Regions from separate parts of the Homo sapiens genome. Here region 1 is linked to region 2. The links are contacts of gene promoters, found by promoter capture Hi-C in blood cells and fetal thymus (Javierre and others, 2016). All regions are on one chromosome and are shown on one strand. Each heading gives the region's core, a stretch centred on a gene start or on the middle of the fragment in contact. The rest is flanking DNA. Distances are from core to core; before and after follow the strand shown.

Evidence for each region. The method cuts DNA at HindIII sites, captures the fragments that hold promoters and counts their contacts. A CHiCAGO score of 5 or more calls a contact.
Region 1: a contact is called between a fragment that was not itself captured here and the fragment with the promoter of CLCA1 in region 2, in 1 of 17 cell types (total B cells). The highest score is 5.6, in total B cells.

What each region holds. Positions count from the first base shown.
Region 1 is chr1:86,648,477-86,655,172 of GRCh38, reverse strand. All of the region lies in intron 4 of CLCA4-AS1 (CLCA4 antisense RNA 1), which reads left to right. It also overlaps the pseudogene CLCA3P. Among named protein-coding and RNA genes, the nearest start is that of CLCA4-AS1, 53 kb to the left of the region's middle. RefSeq lists an enhancer at 6,367-6,696. The HindIII fragment of the contact is 863 bases long and covers 3,432-4,294 here.
Region 2 is chr1:86,465,393-86,472,033 of GRCh38, reverse strand. It overlaps CLCA1 (chloride channel accessory 1), which reads right to left and starts at 3,107. Exons shown (of 14, transcript NM_001285.4): 1 at 2,901-3,107. The coding sequence starts at 3,062. The HindIII fragment of the contact is 8,280 bases long and covers 1,751-6,641 here.

The DNA of each region.
Region 1 (6,696 bases), core at 2,614-5,113, 180 kb before region 2:
ATGAAATATTCATTTGTAATAAAAAATGCGATACAAATAAATCTATAAAACTATTTGCTACTATGTATATATAAATATTTTTTAAATGGCTTGGATACATTTTGATGTTAGTACACCAAATGAATTTGTAGCACACTTTAAAAATGTTTCTTAAAATGCTTACAAGTACAAATATATATCTTTTCATATTAAAAATTAATGAGTGGATTATTCAAAGACAGGAAATGATATACTCATTTTGATTAACATTTAATAACTCAAATAGTATTAATTAATCAAGTAATTAGGAAACTTACAACTTTTGTACTTCACTTTTATATTATAATGAGCTTTATAATAGACAATAAGTATAGTAAATTAAATTTTAAATAAATGTTTACCAAGTATGTATAACATTGAATTTGAGTTCTAATATAATTTCTAGTTTAAAATATAGATAAAATTACAGCTAATCCAAAAATTGCCAAACTGATTGCAGAAATATTGGTACCCAGATCAGGAATGCTGGGTTCCTGTGGAGGAATAAAGTTAGTTGCTTGTGCAATGTTTGAAACCTCTGAGGTGACATTGGCTTCATGGATGGCTTGAATTGCAATATAGAATGTCGTACCATTCTCTATTTTAGAAGGTTCTGGTTTAAATTCAAAACTTTCTACTGAACCAGGCTCCTTAGGTATCAGACCAGAAGTATTTATTAAAGCAGCTTTATCAAAATCTTCTTGGAGGTCCAGGAAATGTTTACTTATTCTTATAATGTAGCTCTCAGCTGGAAAACAAATAGATACTTCAGATATATTAAAATCACTAGGATGCCTTGCTACCACCACACTGCTTTACATTTAGAAACCTATCAGAAATGCACACTAGGTTTTAGTTATGGAAATCCCATTAGTTTTTGTCTGGTTATTCCATCTTTATTGTAAGGACAAATGTGTGAACAGTTTTTCTTAAAATGTAGAGTTCTCTAATCCCAGGAAATTTTAATTCAAAATCATATGGTACTAAAAAGTCAGACTCTGGTGTTTTCCTTTTTAGGGAGAGAAATATAAGGAGCTGGATCTACTTTTTAATTTAGAACAAGGAACATAATAGTATTGTAGTATAGCGAAGATATTCAGTACCCTATATCTGTGTCATTTCTTATTAAGTTAAAATAGGAAGTAATAGGACAGGGGAGAAAGAGAGATGATAAATGGAGTGGGAAACAGGGATAAGGATAACCAGCAAAAGGAGGCAGAGAGACTGGAATGTGTACTAATTAAACACGTGCTAAGCAGAAAGACAAACATCGCAAGTTCTCACTTATTTGTGGGATCTAAAAATCAAAACAATTAAACTCATGGACATACAGAGTAGAAGAATGGTTCCTAGAGGCTGGGAAGGGTAGTGGGGGACTGGGTAGGAGAAGGTGGGGATGGTTAATGGGCACAAAAAAACAGTTAGAAAGAATGAATAAGACCTACTATTTGACAGCACAACAGAGTGACTATAGTCAATAGTCAAAAATAACTTAATTATACATTTAAAAATAACTAAAGGAGTGTAGTTGGGTTGTTTGTAACATAAAGGATAAATGCTTGAGGGGATGGATACCCCATTCTCCATGATGTGATTATTTCACATTGCATGCCTGGATCAAAATCTCATGTACCCTATAAATATATACACCTACTATGTACCCACAAAAATTAAAAATTTAAAAATATGAAAATAAAAAATAAAAGTAAATATGTGTTAAGGACCTAGACAAACCTTGAGTAGCACCCTAATTTTACTACTTGCTAGCTGTGTCATAAAAAGAAATTTATTTAAGATATCTTTTCTTTTTTTTTTCTTTTCTTTTCTTTTTTGAGACAGAGTCTTGCTCTGTCGCCAGGCTGGAGTGCAGTGGTGCCATCTCAGCTCACTGCAACCTCTGACTCCCTGGTTCAAGTGATTCTCCTGCCTCAGCCTCTCGAGTAGCTGGGATTACAGGCATGCGCCACCATGCCCAGTTAATTTTTTTTTTTTTTTCAGTAGAGAAGGGGTTTCACCATTTTGGCCAGGATGGTCTCGATCTCCTGACCTTGTGACCCGCCCACCTCGGCCTCCCAAAGTGCTGGGATTACAGGCATGAGCCACCGCACCCCGACTTAAGTTTCCTTATCTCTAGTTTTTTATCTGTTAAAATAGGGATTCAGTTATTCAAATCATTCAACAAATATTTATTGAGTGCCTACTATTCTAGTGGTAAGAATCATAGATGATAATGCATGAAACATGTTCACTACAATTTAATAAATGGTAAATTAATAAATGTTTGAAATATTGGCTGTTATTTTATCAAGAAAGGAAAAGAAGATGCCAACATAAATGTTTCTTTCTACACTGCTTTTTGATATCTACCATTCATGTAGAAATATATTCTCACATTCTGAAATGTGATGAAAAATAAAACACCAGATTTTTTTTGGAGTAAGGACTTTATTTTTAACTTTTCCATGAAATATTGAAGGTATTTCAAGTGTGTGGTGAATAACTTTTAGTGTATTTTTAAAAATAATTCAGATCCTCTGCTTAACATTTAGTTTCCTTTTAAATAGGCCTTATCAATCCGTTCTACTACTCTTCACAAAAACCTTGTGTTCCACTTACGTAGGTCTCTCTGTCTCTCTTCTCTCCACCTATTTCTTATTTTAATTAGAATATTCCATTGTGAAATTTTGCTTTCTTGACCTTGATCATATAATTTTGTTCTTTCTCTCTCCAAAATGTACCTCCTTCTCCCTATATATGCAAATTGTACTCATTCTTTAAGGTCCAACCAAGCCCAACTGCATGAAGTTCCGTCCAAGTATTTCATTCACCCTGATGACTCTCTTTCATGAACTTCTGTTTCATGGAGTGGAGTTTTTCAGATAGTTTAGTAGAGGTTCAACTTTTCATTCTGATTAGATCTTATTATTTTTGAGGGTAAAGACTATGTTTTTTACTCTTTGTATCACTCAGGGTACCTGGTCCTGTGTTGACATGTATTTGATCTCCTTAATTACTTGGCCAACAATACAGTTGTTAAGTTGACACCCAAAATGATAAAATTAGAAAATCATAAAAAATTTGAATTATATCTACTTGTTTTAGTAATTTTAGGTAATCTAATCTAATTTGTATATTTGACAGGTGAGGAAATTGTGTCCCAGGTAATTTAAGTGCTTCATTTGAGATTATATAGACGTTCATTTATTCTTTAAGATACTGCTACTATCTTACCTTTGGAATATCTACAGGTAACATTTAACAGGTACCAATACCTCTTCCTATTTTTCCTAAGGAAAGACAAAGATTAGATGCCACCTATTTTAGGCATTTGTGGTTATACATTACTCCTACTTTTAGTTCTTATAATCAGCATGAGGGATATTTATTATGAACCCAATCTTGAACTGAAAGCTTGGTTTTTACTGAATTCACTATAGAACTAAATATTTGGTTAAGAAATTTCATTTGTGGCTTTTTCAGTGGCAATGGTATTTTTCACTTTTTTTGATTCTGCCATATGTTTAAGGGTCATAGCATGAGAAAATAAGGTATGCAAAAAGCTGTCATGATAAGATTTTCAACATTGAAATACAAAAGCTCTGTTTGTGCATATTCTGTTTCCTCTGACTTTAGAATGATATTCTCCTTGTATAATAATGATAATAAGAAATGCAGCTTTTAAAATGCTATATAGTGAGTGAAAGATTAAGAAGCATCTTTTCTTTTGAGAGTGTACAATGGGGTTTATTGTAATCCAGGAGAAAGAGTACTGGAACACTGGTGTTTTAGCACTGGCAATCTCTGAGCTATTATGTATATCTAAATTGCATATTGCTTTCATTTTCCCAATCTTAAAGGGAAAATAGCAAGACTGGCGTTATCCCATAAAAATCTACTAACCTATGTAATACTGGAATATGGTAGGCATTCAATAAATACTGATTGAATTCAGTTAAATTTCAAGCAATGACAGAAGTAATTTAAACTTTTTGGAGTGAGGGTCATTTATCATTAGGAACTTTGAATAAATGAGATCTTTTGACCTTGAACTTTATTCAAACTCCATGAACAAATCTTTCAAACTAGTGAATTTCTGTGCACATGAACATCTCTCTCTGTGGACACCTTCACTTATCTTGGGTAACTACTCTCATTCTTCAATACTCAGTGATAGTCTTCTCTGGGAAGGCTTTACAATATACTCTGATTTTAACCTCTAACTAGGGGTTTGTGGCCCATCTATGGGTTGCCACATAATTCTCTGTTTATAAAAGCTTATGTCTTATTATACTTTATGTAATTATCTGTTTACTTGTGTGTCTTCTGTACTTAATTGACTGTTGAGAGTATGGATCATTTCTTAGGATTCTAATAGTGTGAAAGCTCAACAGAAGGTTGATAAATGAATGAAACTGTGCAAGTACAGAAATACTTAAAATTTGGGGAGAAGATAATGCAACAGAAAGCTGTTAACTGTCCTCTCAAAGTAATTTCTAAGCTGCTTCAATTTCTGACAGATAGTTTGGCATAACAGAATCTGACATGACTGGGTTAGAATTGTAAGTTACTAAATATAGAAATAACTTGGTCCAATCAACTCTTATAGCTTTAGTTTTCACATCTGAAAATAATTTAAAAATGGCCTATAGTAGACACTTCATAAATGTTATTTATAAATGGGCCATTAGAAAATTCTTAGCAAATGAAAGCCAATGGGATTTCTTTTAGTATATTTTAAAACGTAATGTCAAACTTACCTCTTCCTTTATCGAGGACCTTGCCAGGGGCAGTCCATGAAAGTTGAATATGATCTCCTTGAAACTTAGCCTCGAGGTCTACAATTTTACCAGGTGAGAACACCTGAGAATGATTACCATTAGGAGGCACTCCTGATACAGTAAACGACCCTCCAGAGATGAGTCTGCTGAAGTCGTCTGTTTGAGCTCCTTCCACATCATCTGTGACTTCAGGTTTGGATGGGTTCAGTATAATTTTTCCTACCAAGAAAAAATTTTGTAATATTTCATATTGCCATGTCTACTCTTTTATTTTATTTTTTATTTTTTTTGTTTTGTTTTTTGAGATGGAGTCTCGCTCTGTCGCCCAGGCTGGCTGAAGTGCAGTGGCGTGATCTCGGCTCACTGCAACCTCCGCCTCCTGGGTTTAAGCGATTTTCCTGCCTCAGCCTCCCGAGTCGCTGGAACTACAGTCGCCCGCCACAACGCCCAGCTAATTTTTGTATTTTGGTAGAGACGGGGTTTAGCCATGTAGGCCAGGCTGGTCTGGAACTCCTGACCTCAGGTGATCCACCCTCATCGGCCTCCCAAAGCGCTGGGATTACAGGTGTGAGCCACCGCGCCCGGCAGCGGTGCCTATTCATCTTGCAAGCTGATCTTGCAGCTGTAGAGGCTTAATATTGATTGGCAGACATTGAAAAAGTAACAGTTTTTACTGAGAAAACACTTGTTTATTCATATTTTAAAATTGATGAGGAAACATTATGCTATGTTAAAACTATCTTTTAACTTCTCTGTCTCTACTACTTGACTGCAAATTCTTTGAGGAACAGGATTATGTTTTGTCTTTGTAGCTCTAGCACCTAAGCACAGTGCTTGCAACATAGTAGGTGCTCAGTAATTTTTTTTTCAATGTAAATGAAATGAACTCAGGGAGATGTGAACAAAATATGTGGAAACATAGGTCTATGCTAGGTCTACTAATATCAACATGGTTTTGAAACATACAGATGATTACAAGGTTATATACTTGGGCTTTCTGTAGTACATTATATTTTCAATGTTTGCCGTATGGAATTTATCTAAACAAGTGACACATTTCTATTTTAGTGCTACTTACCATTTTCAGCATAGCGCGGTACATACAGAGCTTTATTCTGTTGTTGACTTAGCCTAGCTGTGTTTTTTCTTGCCTGGGTAAGCACTTTTAAACTGTATCTACCATTTCCATGGTAATCTGTAAAATACCTTGAGTAGATGCCATCATTCTTGACAGAATCAGCACCTTGATAATGAAATGTAAAAATTAGTCATACAATAAAGTAAAAATGACAGTCATATCTGTTTATGAACACTGATAATGTTAGTAATTTGGGAGATAGTATGTAGCACAGCGTTTTAAGTACATGAATTCTGGAATCAGACTATTTTGGTTGAAAGCTTGGGCCACTTGCTAACTCTGTGTTTTTGGAAAAGTCTAATTCATGGAAGGGATTCAATTAATATTAGCTGTTACTATTATTTCATAAAAAATACTTATCAAAATAAGAAAAAGCAACTGAAGAAAGCATATATGAAACACTGACATTAATGAAAATAGAGAAAAATTGTGCTCTTAAGTTCCATGGAAAAAGCAAAATTGTTCATAAAATTTAAAAATGGCATAAGTGCTATGTCTATGAGTTGTCAAGATAACTGAGAAAAAAGTTTTTAAAACATTAGGATTAAATTTCATTTACTTAAAAATATGATTCATTAGCAAATACAGGAAATATTGACTTCTAGGTCATAGAACTGTAGGAGGATTTTAAGTTTAGTGGAAGTTGATGTAGATTCTTATTACCTGCGCCATTGTCCCAGAGCTCCAATGTTACTTGATGTCCCTCTTCATTTTCTATAATGGCTGTTACATTGATTCCCAGAACAGGAAGAAACCCTTGAC
Region 2 (6,641 bases), core at 1,858-4,357:
AAAAAAACAAAAATGTAAAAGAAAAAGGGGTCATTGCAGGAGCAAAGTCCTTGCGGGAACAGACCAGAGTGACTAGACTCCATTGCCTAGTGGGGGTCGTGTTAGGAGCAGAAATGCTTCACCATTTTATGGGGAAGCAGCACTTGGGTGTTAGTGCACGGGTAAGTCCTGCTGTGCCTCTTCCTAAGGGGTAAACTTAAAGAACTTATTTTACTTCTCTGAGCCTCAATTTCTCCCTTTCAAATAGTGATAATAATGGTTGCCTCTATTTTTTTAAGTGTTCTTAATGATTTACATTTTCTCCTTCTAAAACTCCCAGATTTTTAACACTCACTAGGAGAGTTTAATATTATGTCACTTTAAAAAATAAAATTAAAAAATGAGCCAAGATCACCAAAAACTTGAAAAGTAGGTATAAAACTTCATATATTAGAGTATTGTTTTACCATTTGACTTGTGAAATGTGAATTTCCAATGTCTCCCAGGAAGAATAAGTACCATGAAATGCTCTTGTCTTCCACATTGTAATAGAAACAATAATAAGGGATCTTTGTTTTGGCATCTGTTTCAGATTTTCAGAAAATGACCTCATATCCTAATACATATTTAGACTCTTAGGCTGAGAGAAGGTTGGGGGTGACAGTTTATAGAATGGGCTAGAAATTCCTTCAGGACAGGGACAGTATATTGACCACTGGACTTCTAGTACCTGACATAATTTAGATGCTCTGTAAATATTTGTTGAATGAATAAACAAACAAATGGATAAATAAAGTGGGTTTAGTAAATGGCAAAGTGGTATAGAACTGCCAAGACAGGCACAGTGCCTGGGGTGCTGAGCATTGCAGAGACTCCAAAATAACCCTACTGTGTACCTTCTGACGTGCGTGTGTGCGTGTATGTCTGCGTGTGTGCATGGGCGTGTGTGTGTGCACACGAGCTTGTGCGTGTGGTGTGTGTGTATGTATATTTGACGGGGGAAGAGAGAGTTTCTCTCTGACTCTCCCTTCCTCATCTTGTGACGTGTACTCCCCCTGCTAATATTAGCAAGAATGCAGTGGATGGAAGTGGTGCAGAGCGATTAACTGCTCTTGTAGGTGGGGAAATCTGGGGACTGTCCTGCTGAAGCAAATATTTTAAAAGCTGAGTTAGGGGCTTCTGTCCCCACAGGGGCACCAGGGGAGAGTCTCTCATCAGCAAGAAGGTTGTTGGAGTAGAGGGAGGAATGGTTGGGAAAGGTGGCCAAGCCCTCAACGAGGTCCCTCAACTCTGCAGATCTGGAACATCAAATAGGAAGGAGTTAGGGACTTTGAGCATTCTATTCACTAAAGTGTTCTTGTTACAGAGAAGGAAATGATGGAAGCCAACTTATCTCACCCCCAACTTTAGGATCCATACTGGAAAGACAATTTAATAATTGTAGCGAGAAGTACGTATCTCGGGAGGAAAACCTCCAAGGACAATGAAGTAGAAGCACTTTGAAAGCTCTAGTCACTATATACTGTAGATACAAATTACCACGGTCACTGAAGATGAATACGGCATCTACATTCTCCTTCTGGCATATTGCTGAACCCCACTGTCTAGCCAGAGACTGAAACACACTGGTCACATGTTTGCTGATGCCACTTCCAAATTTAGAAACAATCAAAAACTCACTCAACATTTTAGATGATTGAGAGATTCAAGAGGTCTGAATCTCCCTTTTACCACAGACAGCCTGATCCTCTTTGGGTTAAGTAGGTAAGCTTTATGGTGAGTGACACCCTCCACTCTGTTCCCTATCCCTATCCCCTACTGCTGCAATTCTCTAACCACACACTGTAGAGATGGTTTTCTTTCCAAACATTATCTTTCTATATTTGCCTCTGCTTAGAGCAGTGGATCTCTGGGGAAATCCCTCTGGGCCCTTGTTCTATTAATTTTCCATCTAGAGAGAGCCAATGACTATATCCACCATTTATTGAGCTCTTACTATGTACCAGGCACTATGCATGCATTTTTAAAGTTATTTTTTAAAGTTCTGAGATAAATTTAGATGAACAGAAGACATGCAAAGTATTGCACCGTATTCTTACATACTCCACCCAGCTTCCCTTTATATGCATGCATTTTAAACTTTGATCCTCACAAAATCTGATAAGGGAGATATTTATTATTATTATTCCCATTTTACAGACTAATACTGTTACTAGTACAGCACTGCCTCTGGATGTGTTACAGCCAGATTCCAGGGCGGTCTTTTATAAAGCATTTCCCTCTTAGTTTTAGCTGTTTGTTGTTGTACAAGACCTTCTTCAATGGTATAGATACCCCTGCCAGGACAGGAAGTCTTCTTCCTTTCCCTTCTGCTACATAAGAGGTAGCAAGAAATCTCTGAAAGGATCCCTTGAATTGGGACTGATAAAATGCAAGGTTTTCTCCCATCAGAAGGTCAGGGTTGTTCTTATATCAGAGATTTGCATCTGGGGCTCCTTTTAGGATCACAGGGAAGGGGGTTCCTATTAGGAGAATAAAAGGAGAGTCTGACTCGTGCCAAGGGTAAAATCAGGCAAAGGATCTGTGCATCTCACAATATCTGTCAAATGTAGCTGACTCTGCCTTACTATAGAACTAAATAATTTTCAGTGACATAATCCACAGCAGTACATATCAATTTATCATTTATCAGTTGCCAACAGTATATCACTCTGAGTTATGTGCATTGCATTCATTATCTTATCTGACACAAGAATCCTAATGGTTAACTTGTTATTATTTCCATTTTACAGATGAAGAAACTGAGACTTAGACATAAAAATACATGCCAGTGTCGTGCAGCTGGAATAGGGCACTCATGTTCTCTCTATCACAACATTATGCTATTTTTAAAAAAGTATGGATAATTACTATGAACTTACCTTTATTTGTTGAATGAGTGTTTCATCTTCTGGCACATTGGGGTCGATTGCAACGACAATGCCTTCATAGCCATTGTTGTTCAGCTGAATGAGTGAATTACTCAGGGCCCCTTCTAGAAGGTGAAGAATCAAGATGAACACAGAACTCTTAAATGGCCCCATTGCTGTACATCTCCCTGTGATTTCTCTCTTTGGAAAATGCGGGTTACGAAGGTGTCTTTCTTTACCATTATATATATACAGATATGAAAATATAGACACACGTTTCCAACTTATCGGAAGTGGTTTATCACAGGTCTTTAACCCCCTGACCTGATGTGTTTTACTATTGCTCTTGTCTTCAATAGGAGAATGATAACAATATCTTAGTCTCAAATTGCGTACTTGTAAATATTTCCATCTGCCTTCAGCTGTGCCAGATGCTGGGGTAAGGGTGGGGGAGCCCACATCCGGTTCCTTGGAAGCACTCACAGGTGACAAGCAGCTTGGCCGCTGATAGGTTTGTTTACTTCTTGGAAATGTTTACCAAGCCATGGACACCAACCCACCCAAAGCCCCCAACCCCCTCCTGCCCAGGAAAATCCAGACTGTTCTGCTTATTCAGTAAACATTTTGTAAGCCATATATTCAGTTATCCCTCATGGTGGTCTTTACCACAATGGTGGTTTTGTTTACCTTGACATAACCTCAACACCTCTTCATGCTCCCCTTAAACAAGAAAATATTCAATTATATTCCACATCCATTTGTACCAAAAGCATTAGCAAGTGATGTAGATATTATTGACTATTTTATAATGGAGAGTAAAGATAAAATGTATATCTTACTTTGCAAAGCATACTCCAAGTTCCTCATCAGATTTCTGCTTTCTCTATTGCATAGCTCCTACCAGTCAATAAAATTCCAATTAACATCATTAAATTATTTTGCTGAAACTAAATGTCCCTAGGAACATGAATTATGGGCTGTCAGTGGCTGTGTATATTCTTTCAATTTGCCAAACCTCAGGTGGAACCTCAAATTGGCCCCCCATTTTCTTGTATTGAAATACTTGAAATATCTCTTCGTTCATAAATTCATTTGGTCTTCAGATGGTGATAAGCATTAATTTCATCTTGTCCATATGAACTTTAAAGTAGTTTTTTCCAATTCTGTGAAGAAAGGCATTGGTAGCTTGATGGAGATGGCATTGAATCTGTAAATTACCTTGGGCAGTATGGCCATTTTCACGATATTGATTCTTCCTATCCATGAGCATGAAATGTTCTTCCATTTGTTTGTATCCTCTTTTATTTCCTTGAGCAGTGGTTTGTAGTTCTCCTTGAAGAGGTCCTTCACGTCCCTTGTAAGTTGGATTCCTAGGTATTTTATTCTCTTTGAAGCAATTGTGAATGGGAGTTCACTCATGATTTGGCTCTCTGTTTGTCTGTTGTTGGTGTATAAGAATGCTTGTGATTTTTGTACATTGATTTTGTATCCTGAGACTTTGCTGAAGTTGCTTATCAGCTTAAGGAGATTTTGGGCTGAGACAATGGGGTTTTCTAGATATACAATCATGTCATCTGCAAACAGGGACAATTTGACTTCCTCTTTTCCTAATTGAATACCCTTTATATCTAGCATAATCTTAAGCAGTTAAAAGGGAAACACTGAAATAGAGTGGAAATGCTCAATTATAATGTGGTTGTCCAGATGATCCAAAATATGCTTTTATATCAAAATACATATACATTTATTATTCATACAAAATTTAAAAATGTAGATTCCAAGATATCTCAGACCCCAAATGTATGTGTCTTTGCCTGGGTTCCCTAAAAAACAGAGCCTAAGGCAGGCATATGTGCTAAGAGTTTGAGAGTTTAATCCCAGAGCAGTGAGAATGAGGGAATGGGGAAATGAGTCAGGGAAGGCTGGGAAGCAACTAAAGGAGGAGCATTACTAAGCCCTGCAATGGAGACACCCAGCAGGCCAGCCCACAGGCGCCCTTGCCTTCCTGTGTGGGTTGTCTCCTAAGGGGCTGTGCAAAGAAACCACGCCTTGGAGCAGCCCTTTGGAGAGAGGAAGGAAAAGCGTTTGGCTCCTTCTCATCTTCTACAGGTGATCATCTCCCCCCAGACTTCCTGGCTGTGTCATCCAGCCCTTTCGGCAGTCGCTTAGAAAGAGAGACCCCCATGCCTTGTGGTATGTGAGGAGCCAGGGGTTACAAGAGGTGGCAGCTTGACCTCAGGCAGTGGAACTGCTTGGACCTGCAAGGAGTGGATAGTGACTGAGGTGGAGCAAATGACTGAGTGCCCGGTAGACAGATGGAACCAAGCAAATCTGAGGAGGTTCAATAAGAAGAGTCTGATACAGTTCACTCTGAGCTGCTCAGATTCACTCTAGTACTTTCATCATATCAAGCTCCAATATTATAATGTAGGATTTGTGTTTCTGTGTGTGTGAGCACTAGCTGTCTCACTTTTCCCCTGAGAGAAGGTACAAGTTTAATCATTTACAGAATCTCCTTCAAAGTGGTGGTCAATTGCAATCTGCTCAAGTGCATAAGGCAAGAAGGTTATTGAAATAAATTGCAATGCCTGCTGTTACAGCTGGTCTCAAGGCTTTTATAATCTCCCTCCTTTATCACCTATTTCCCTCACTTTTACTCAGCATTTTGGTTGATCTGTATTGTTTGTTCTCTTGTTGGGGTAATCCCACCCTTCATCCCTGAGTGGGGTCTTTAGTTGTCCTGCCCTTGTTGGCTGCAGCTGCTGCATTTCCCTATGACAGAGGTCATCTGGTGTGACAGACTCAGTTTAAGTGCTCTCCAAATTTGCTTGGCATTCCCTGCAAGCTGGGTCTTGGCTGCTTGCTCAGTGGAGAGTCCTGGCTGCTGCTAAAATTCACACATCTCCTAATACCAGTGTTTCTTCTTAGCTTTCCCCAGGAAGAGGGCCTAGTTTAGCATGGCCTTCACTGTGCAGATTGTGGGGGCAGCTCCTCCATTCTCTCCCGTTCCCAAGTCTGGATTGAATGGATGTGTGGAGGCTTTTGGCTCAGATAAATCACTGCACCATGGTACTGGGATCTGGCTTTGTCAGAGGCAGCCCAAATGGGCCAAATAACAGAAACCAGAGATGCAGGGAGTTAGCACCCTAAGGGACAACCTTTCACCAAAGAATATTTCCAGCATTCTAGAAGTTTCCTTTGCATTCCCTTCCAGTAAATCCCCCCAAAAGATAATTGCTATTCTGACTTCTATGCCACATAGGTTAATTTTGCCTGTTTTTGAACTTCATATAAACAGAAATATGCTGTATGTACTCTTGCATTTCGCTATTGTGACATAACATTTTCTATATGAGATTCAGCCAAGTTGTTGAATGTAGCAGTAATATGTTCTTTTTCCATTCCATTCCACTGTAAAAAATACTGCAATTTACTTACCACCCACTCTTGATGAACATTTGGACTATTTCCAGTTTGGGACTATTATGAATGAAGATGCCATAGATGTAAGCATTGATTTCAGTTGCAAATATACAAAGAGTGACATTGCTGGGTGACAGGGTATACATCTATCTAGTGACAAAGACTCCCTCCTTTGACCAAAACTTAAGTCAGGATCCTGAGTCTTCTCTGACTAGGTCTGACCTTGGGCTTCCCTCTCTGTCCTTGCAGAATCCAGTTTGAGCAAGAATCCTGCTAAGTCAGTTTAGGGAAAATCCCCACGTTTGGTATCTGACCATTCTCAGCATCTTT